2 separate regions of the Homo sapiens genome follow, and region 2 is linked to region 1. The links are contacts of gene promoters, found by promoter capture Hi-C in blood cells and fetal thymus (Javierre and others, 2016). All regions are on one chromosome and are shown on one strand. Each heading gives the region's core, a stretch centred on a gene start or on the middle of the fragment in contact. The rest is flanking DNA. Distances are from core to core; before and after follow the strand shown.

Region 1 (3,555 bases), core at 101-2,600:
TCTAAAAATCTTTAACTTGCATAACTGGCACATGGGGGTATAAATCTACAACTCTTCTAAGTTTTTTCTCCTTAGTTCTGCTAAGTGAAAACACAAGTCATTATCAACGTGTACTTGAAAAGAGAAAAAAAAAGAAAAAAGAAACCAGAGACACGCCTGCTGGGTATAGGAGCTCCACCCCCAAAACTCAAGGTGAATATCCTTACCAGTCTTTAATAAGCTCTGCATTCTGGTCTGTTCTCATCCCACATACCTTGTTAATCATGGAAAGCAACTCCGAACTAAAACTGGTTTAAAGAGAGTCCGAGGTGTTGCTTATACGTCTGGACTTCAGAGACTGGAGGGTTGGGACTTTACATGCCCCTAAACGTGGCCTTACGGAGTAATACAGCGAGGGAAAAAAGGAGATCAGTGGCAAAAAAAAAAAAAAAGGGGGCAAGGAAAAGAAAACGGTGAATTACAGAGCCCAAAACTTTAGTTTAGGTCCCAACTTCAGAAATCTCCCTTCCCTGGTGCCCCATCCATCCCAGGAATCAGGAGACTCAAAAAAGGTTAAGGGCCAGCGTTGACCTGTGACAACTAAAACGATTTTGAAAAATCCAGCCAAAGAAACAAAAAAAAAAGGCTGCGAGGAGAAATGGGATGGAAGAAAGATGAATGCTGAGAGCTGGTCTCTGGGGCGCCACCGGGGACCCTGGTTTCGGGGGAAGAACTGGAGGTGCCCGTAGCTGCGGGGGGACGGTGTGTGTGTAGGGGCGGGATGGGCCGTCCCAGGTGCGGCGGCCGAGGCGCGGGGGTCCCGGAGACGAGAAGGCTGGGCAAACTAACCCGGTGCCCAGAGGCCTCCCTGTCCGAAGGGGGTTGTGCTTCAGCTGCAGGGGGTCCTTCCCCTCCCCTTCCAACTCCTCACCCGGGCCGTAGAACTTGCTGCCTTTGGTCACGTCGAAGACTTTCCCATTGACCGCGAGCAGGATGCGCGGGTTGCGGGAGCCGTCGTACTGGCGCAGCTGCTCCAAGCTGAAGTCCCGCTTCTTCATGCGAGGCAGAGAGGTGGCGGGGCTCTCCTCGCCCGCCCCGGCCCCGGCCCCCAGACCCCGCCGCCCCCAGCGCACCCACAGCCGGTAGGCCCCCAGCAGCACCAGAGCCACCAGCGCCACGTTCAGCAGCATTTCCCCGCCCCCCGTCAGAAGCGCCAACGCCGCCGCCGCCCAGCCTCCCCCTTCCGCTGCCGCTCCCGCGTCGCCTGGACTCTCGCTGCCGCCGTCGTTGCTGCTCTCGCTGCCACTCCCCAGGGTGCCTAGCTTCACGTCCCCATCACCAGCCGCCATCACTGCCCGCCAGCGCCTTCCTCCTCCTCCCCGCCCCCTGCCCTCCCCAACCCCACGGCCGGCCCCGCCCATCTGGGGGCCTCTCAGCCAATAACGTGAGAAGAGGGGGCGGGGTCAGGCCGGCTCCTGATTGGGTGTTGACGGGGTAACGTTGTCTCGGATCTCCCGCCCCCTCCCTTCTTTCGCTGGCCGCGCACGCGTGCAACGCCCCGCCCACCTCGCCCCACACTTCCCTGCTCTCACTCCAAGCCTCCGCTAGGTTAAGTAGACGAGCCGGGCGGGTCTGAAGAAAAGATGCTACGACGGCCGCGCGGACGCTCATGGGCGGGGCGAGACCACAGCGCGTGCGCGGGCTCCTGAGCGCCACGCGCTCGCCTTTCGTTCGTAACCCCTGCGGGAGGCACGCCCCGCCCAGTCTCCAGGCTCTGCGCGTGCGCCCTGGAATCGCTTCCCTTCCTAGGCCTGCGTTCGCGTCCGCAAACTCCCGCCTCCTTGCGCTCCCCCCGCCCGGGAGCTTCACGTGCGCCTTGGCGGCCGCGGGGGCAGGTCCGGGCTGGACGCCTGGCGGAGGACGCGGGCAGGTGGCTTGTGGGAGGCTGGGGCATAGTTGAGCTGCAAGGCGCAAACCGATGAGGGGCGTCTGCTTTTCACCAGGGCGCCGTCGCTTTTGTCGGGAAACCGGCAGCGTAGGCGCGCAGACCGGGAAGCGGCAAGAAGATTTGGCCACGAGCTGGGGTCTTCCTGGAACGGAGAGAAAGCACGGAACCCGCACCGGGCTTCTCTGGCATCGGCAGTCTACGTGCTCCTCGCGCTGGCACCGAGCAGCCACTCCCCGCTGGGTTTGGCAAAGGCTGCTCTTGTAGAATTTTAAAGGATTTAGAGTCTCATTATTCCTTGAATCATAACTTCTGCGGCCGTAGGGAAGTGGACAGGTTGAGGTGGTCTTTCTATTCGTCATTCACTCTTATTTGCAGGTTCTGTTTCATGTACTTGGACGTCTTTTAGCCTCTCACACCTTGAAATTCTAGTGTGAAAAAGTGACCTCTGAAGTCTCACGCACTCAACTCGTTTGACGAACTCGTTTGACGTGTTCTCTCTTGCCCTTTGTTGTCTGTTGTCTTGAGTCTCATAGAATAGGTTTGAACCTTTCACTGTCGGTTTTGTAGGAGTCACTGAGGATATTGACGAGGCAAGTGACAGGGTCGACACTCTTGTAGAGAGGCTGTATAGCAACCAGGTGTCTGAAGGATTAGAGGCTGGGGAAAGAGTGGGAAAGCAGTTAGTAGGCTAGGGTATTTGTGCGTGAGGTGAGGAGACTCAGAGCTAGGGGAGACATTAGAGCAGGGGTTGGCAAACATTTTTTGTAAAGGGCCCGATCATATTTTAAGTCTCTGCCTTAACTACTCAGCTCTACCTTGTAACGAGAAAGCAGCCATAGACAATACTTGAATGAGTGTAGCTGTCTTCAGTAAAACTATGGACATTGAATTTTTAATATAATTTCAGGTATGAAATATTCTTTTGATTTTTAAGAAAATCATTGAAATATGTAAATTTTTTTTTTTTTAGTTCTGGAGAGGTGCAAAAACAACTTATAAGCCATATTGCTGAGCCCTGCATTAGAGGTACCTGAGGGAGAGCGACACAATTGGTAGTAAATGACCATATACTCTATCCTTCAATATGGAACACTTTTGGAAGTAAAGTAGGGCATTAATAATTATAGCCAGAGACCAGGAGTTATATCAGTTTTATCCCAGGCAAACCTAAAGGAATAGTCACCTTAAGGTTAAGGGTTAGGAGAAGTCAAAATTGCTTTAGGACTTGGTAACAGAAAATGGGAGGTGCCAGTGATGGAAATAGGAAGATAAAGAAGAAACTGGTTTTGAGGAGAAGATAGCTGTAGCAGTCCCAAGAGCTGTATACAGTTGAGACAACATTGATAGGAAGGAAGAAAGCACCCCAGAAGCAGGCCACTCCTTATATCTTATTGACCAGAACTGGGCTATTAGCTGTCCCTAAAGCAGTAACAGACAAGGAGCATGGGACATCCATGATTGCCTAGTGTTTATCTGGCTTTTTTAATTCTTATTCAGGACTGTGTTGAGCATTGCTGGACATTTACCATCTCTGGTTCCTTCCAGCTAAATGTCAGTACCACACCTCAGGCATTGTGACACCGTAAATCAACCGTTTTTCCCTCCCACCCCCCAGAGGTGTGGTACTG
Region 2 (3,714 bases), core at 734-3,233, 410 kb before region 1:
AGAGGGGTTTGCTGAGGAGCAGAATATTTGCAGGAAATTCAAGTGTCTCCCCCATAGATTGCTTATTAGTTGCAAGTAGAAAACCAGCAATTTATACAGTGGAGAAACTGGGATCAAATTAACATCACTAATGAGAGACAAACAATATCACGTGCCTCCAAATGTGGTCTCTTGGAAAGAATATAACCTCATGTATGTAATATTACAATCAGGAATACATAACCTGAATCTAATCATGAGGAAACACGAGACAAACCCAAAGTAGGGAAGATTCTGTAAAATAACTGGCCCTTAACACACACACACACACACACACACACTCCTAAGAGTGGTGACAATGTGTTAATTTGATTGTTGTAATCATTTCACAATGTATATGAAATCATCATGCTGTACAACTTGAATAAATACAATTTTTGTCAACTATACCTCAGTAATACTGGAATGAACAAATGAACGAATGATAAATAATTGGCCTGCACTCTTCAAAAATCTCAATGTCACAAAAATACAAATGCTGAGGAACTCTTCCATATTAAAGGAAATTAAAAAGATATGGTAACTAAATACGGTATGTGATCCTGTACTAGATCTATACTGGAAGGAAAAAATGTTAAATAAAGACATTACTGGAACAATTGACAAATCGGAATATGAACTGTAGATTAGATTAAATATAAATATTGTATCAATGCTAAATATCCTTAATTTGATAAACATACAAGAGGATACCCTGGTTCTTAAGAAATTCACACTTTAGAAATAAGGGGTATAAGAGCATAGTGTATGTAACCTATTTTAGAATGATTCATAAAATACAAATAATAGGCTTATTTATATATTTATACATGTATATTACACATGAAGAATAGTAAAAACAAGTGTGGCAAAATGTTAAGAATTGGTTAATCTGAGTAAAGGACAACAGGAGTTCTCTATTATTTTTACAACTTTTCTGTAAGCTTAAAATTATTTGAAACTAAAAAGTTTAAAAAAAAAAATGGGCCGGGCATGGAGGCTCACGCCTGTATTCCTAGCACTTTGGGAAGCCGACGCAGGCGGATCACCTGAGGTCAGGAGTTCGAGACCAGCCTGGCCAACATGGTGAAACCCCGTCTCTACTAAAAATACAAAAATTAGCCAGTCGTGGTGGCGCGTACCTGTAAATCCCAGCTACCCGGGAGACTGAGGAAGGAGAATCGCTGGAACCCAGGAGATGGAGGCTGCAGTGAGCCGAGATCGAGTCACTGCACTCCAGCCTGGGCGACAGAGCGAGACTCCATCTCAAAAGAAAAAAGAAAAAGAAAAAGAAATACACACTAACATCAAGGAAAAGAGCTTTCACTTAATAACAGAAGATCTAAGTTTGTGCGCTACTTCTGTTTGTTAAATATCCTTCCTTAAGCATCACACTTTTCTCACCTGCAAAACACCATCCCAAACTTACAGAGGTCTCTTTTGATCCATACAAATTATGTGTATGAGAGATCTAACTGTAAATTATTATACAAATGACATTATAATATTAAATACTTAGGAGTTTGCCAAAATAAAGAATGGAGTTCGTTTTCTTAAGGTACCGTACACATTAACTACAGTTATAACAAACTACGGAATAAGCGGTAGTGGTGTAAACGGTGTTCCTTAAAGGAAGGTAATGTTTTTTGCCCTGTTCCGTCAAGTCTTAAACGCTTGACATTTTAAAATAGTTTTAAACCCTTTCCGGAATTAGAAGTGGTATTTCGGACCGTGAAGTAACCGATCAGCCATAAGTGTCCCATCTTTAAGGCCTGCTCTTTTACCCGTCTTGCAGAAGTTCTTCCGAGAGTGGGCCCGAGACAGCCTCCCGCCCGAACTAAACTCTCCGCAGCGCTTCCGGCCCTTGGCCCCGAAGTCTAGAACCCTGGGCCGGCCGCAAAGGAAGGTCTGCCGCGCATGCGCGCCCCGGCGCAGCCTATCCGGAGCGATCCATCTCGTTACGTCACCACCAGCCTAGCTCGGACGGCAAGCGGCGGGAGATTTTCAAAATGGGAGCCCAGAGGCACCGCCCAGGCCTCGGAAGGTGTCAGGGAGAACTTTCCGTGGTTTCAGCGTCGTCGCCTGGAGCGGCGGTTTAGAGAGCCGAGCCTGATGGGCGCCAAGGCCGGCTGGCTGCTTGGAGCGCTGCCTCGAAGGGACTGCGTGAAGGAAGCTAATCCGGAGAACCCAGGCCAGAGCCTGGAAATATGGCGACCTGCATCGGGGAGAAGATCGAGGTGAAAAGACTCGGCAGTCTGCAGCGGGGCGGGTGGGAGTAATTGTGGGAGGACACGAGACCGCTGTGGGAAGGGGAGCGAACGAAGCTAACGGCTGCGGGGCGGGCACCGAGGTGCTTAGGGAGGGTCCCAACGGCCCAGACCCCTGCTGTTTAGGGGCGGAGCGGCCCGCCCCTCAAGAGACAAGAGTAGGGAAGGCGGGACAGGTGAGTCCCTCCCCGCCCGGCAGTGTCCCGAGGCACTGCGGCTTTCTTTCAGCAATCCCGCCCGAGCTACCGCGTTAGAGCAGGGCAGGGCTACCTCCCACTTCTCCAAGGGGATGGCGGTTATCTCCGGCGGGAGCTGCGGCGGGATTCTGACCGAGCCCTCCGCTCCCGGGGATTGGCTGGAGATGGGAGGAGGGCGCTTAGGCTGCACTGAGGTTGAGGAACCAGATCACTAGGGTGCACCATCACCCTGAGCTTCCAGTCCAGCCTGGAAGCGCAGGTATCCCCGCACGGAGTCAACATGCCTTCCACCCTAGACACCTGCTGCATCGAGGTGTAATACCCGCTTGAATTTTGTCAAATTCCCCACTCGATCCATTTTATCTTCTTTTTCCAGCCCCTTCCCATCTTCCTTTCTACTGTGAGTCATCACACATAATCTTTAATTTTAACTTTTAAGGATTTTAAAGTTGGAAATCTGCTTGGTAAAGGATCATTTGCTGGTGTCTACAGAGCTGAGTCCATTCACACTGGTTTGGAAGTTGCAATCAAAATGGTAAGAATAAACTAATCAACTTCTCTCCTGTACTTTGCAAGTAACTAGAGAGGTATCAGAGATGTCAGAAACTCCTTGTCTACTAGCCTTTCCTTTGATTATAGTGTAAGGAACACTTTACATAGGCAGAAGACAATAGTGCCAAGTCCAGCCGTTGAACTTAAAAATATTTTAGGAAAGCCTTGACCTTGCTTAAGTAAGTTTTATCTTCATTAATGTTCAGTAGACCTCGTATGTGGTGTAATTATCCATACTTGGAGTAATGAGTAGAAATCAACTAACAAATAATTTGTTTATAGTTCACTGTGTATAATTTTGTATTTCCCTGTAACATACAAAATATTATTCTTGATTGTTAGAAGTCAGCCTAATAGGAGTAACATAAACATAAGCAAATTAAGAATTATTTGTCAGCCGGGTGGGTGGCTCACACCTGTAATCTCAACGCTTTGGGAGGCTGAGGCAGGTGGATCACCTGAGCTCAGGAGTTTGAAAACAACTGTGCAACATGGTGAAACCTCCTCTCTACCAAAAATACAAAAATTAGCTGCTGCTGGGCACGGTGGCTCACGCCTGTAATCCCAGCACTTTGGGAGGCCGAGGCGGGTGGATCACCTGAGGTCGGTAGTTCAAGACCAGCCTGACCAACATGGAGAAACCCCATCTCTACTAAAAATACCAAATTAGCCGGGTGTGG

What was found. Contacts are between HindIII fragments. The CHiCAGO score rates a contact against its expected background, and 5 or more counts as called.
Region 2: a contact is called between the fragment with the promoter of PLK4 here and the fragment with the promoter of PGRMC2 in region 1, in 10 of 17 cell types (fetal thymus, non-activated CD4 T cells, naive B cells and 7 more). The highest score is 26.3, in fetal thymus.

Annotation. Positions count from the first base shown.
Region 1 is chr4:128,286,463-128,290,017 of GRCh38, forward strand. It overlaps PGRMC2 (progesterone receptor membrane component 2), which reads right to left and starts at 1,351. Exons shown (of 3, transcript NM_006320.6): 1 at 911-1,351. The coding sequence starts at 1,328. RefSeq lists silencers at 991-1,050, 1,231-1,280, 1,291-1,470, 1,791-1,980, 2,352-2,646. The HindIII fragment of the contact is 4,970 bases long and covers 1-3,555 here.
Region 2 is chr4:127,878,910-127,882,623 of GRCh38, forward strand. PLK4 (polo like kinase 4) reads left to right here and starts at 1,984. Exons shown (of 16, transcript NM_014264.5): 1 at 1,984-2,255; 2 at 2,922-3,017. The coding sequence starts at 2,226. RefSeq lists an enhancer at 2,068-2,307. The HindIII fragment of the contact is 5,077 bases long and covers 961-3,714 here.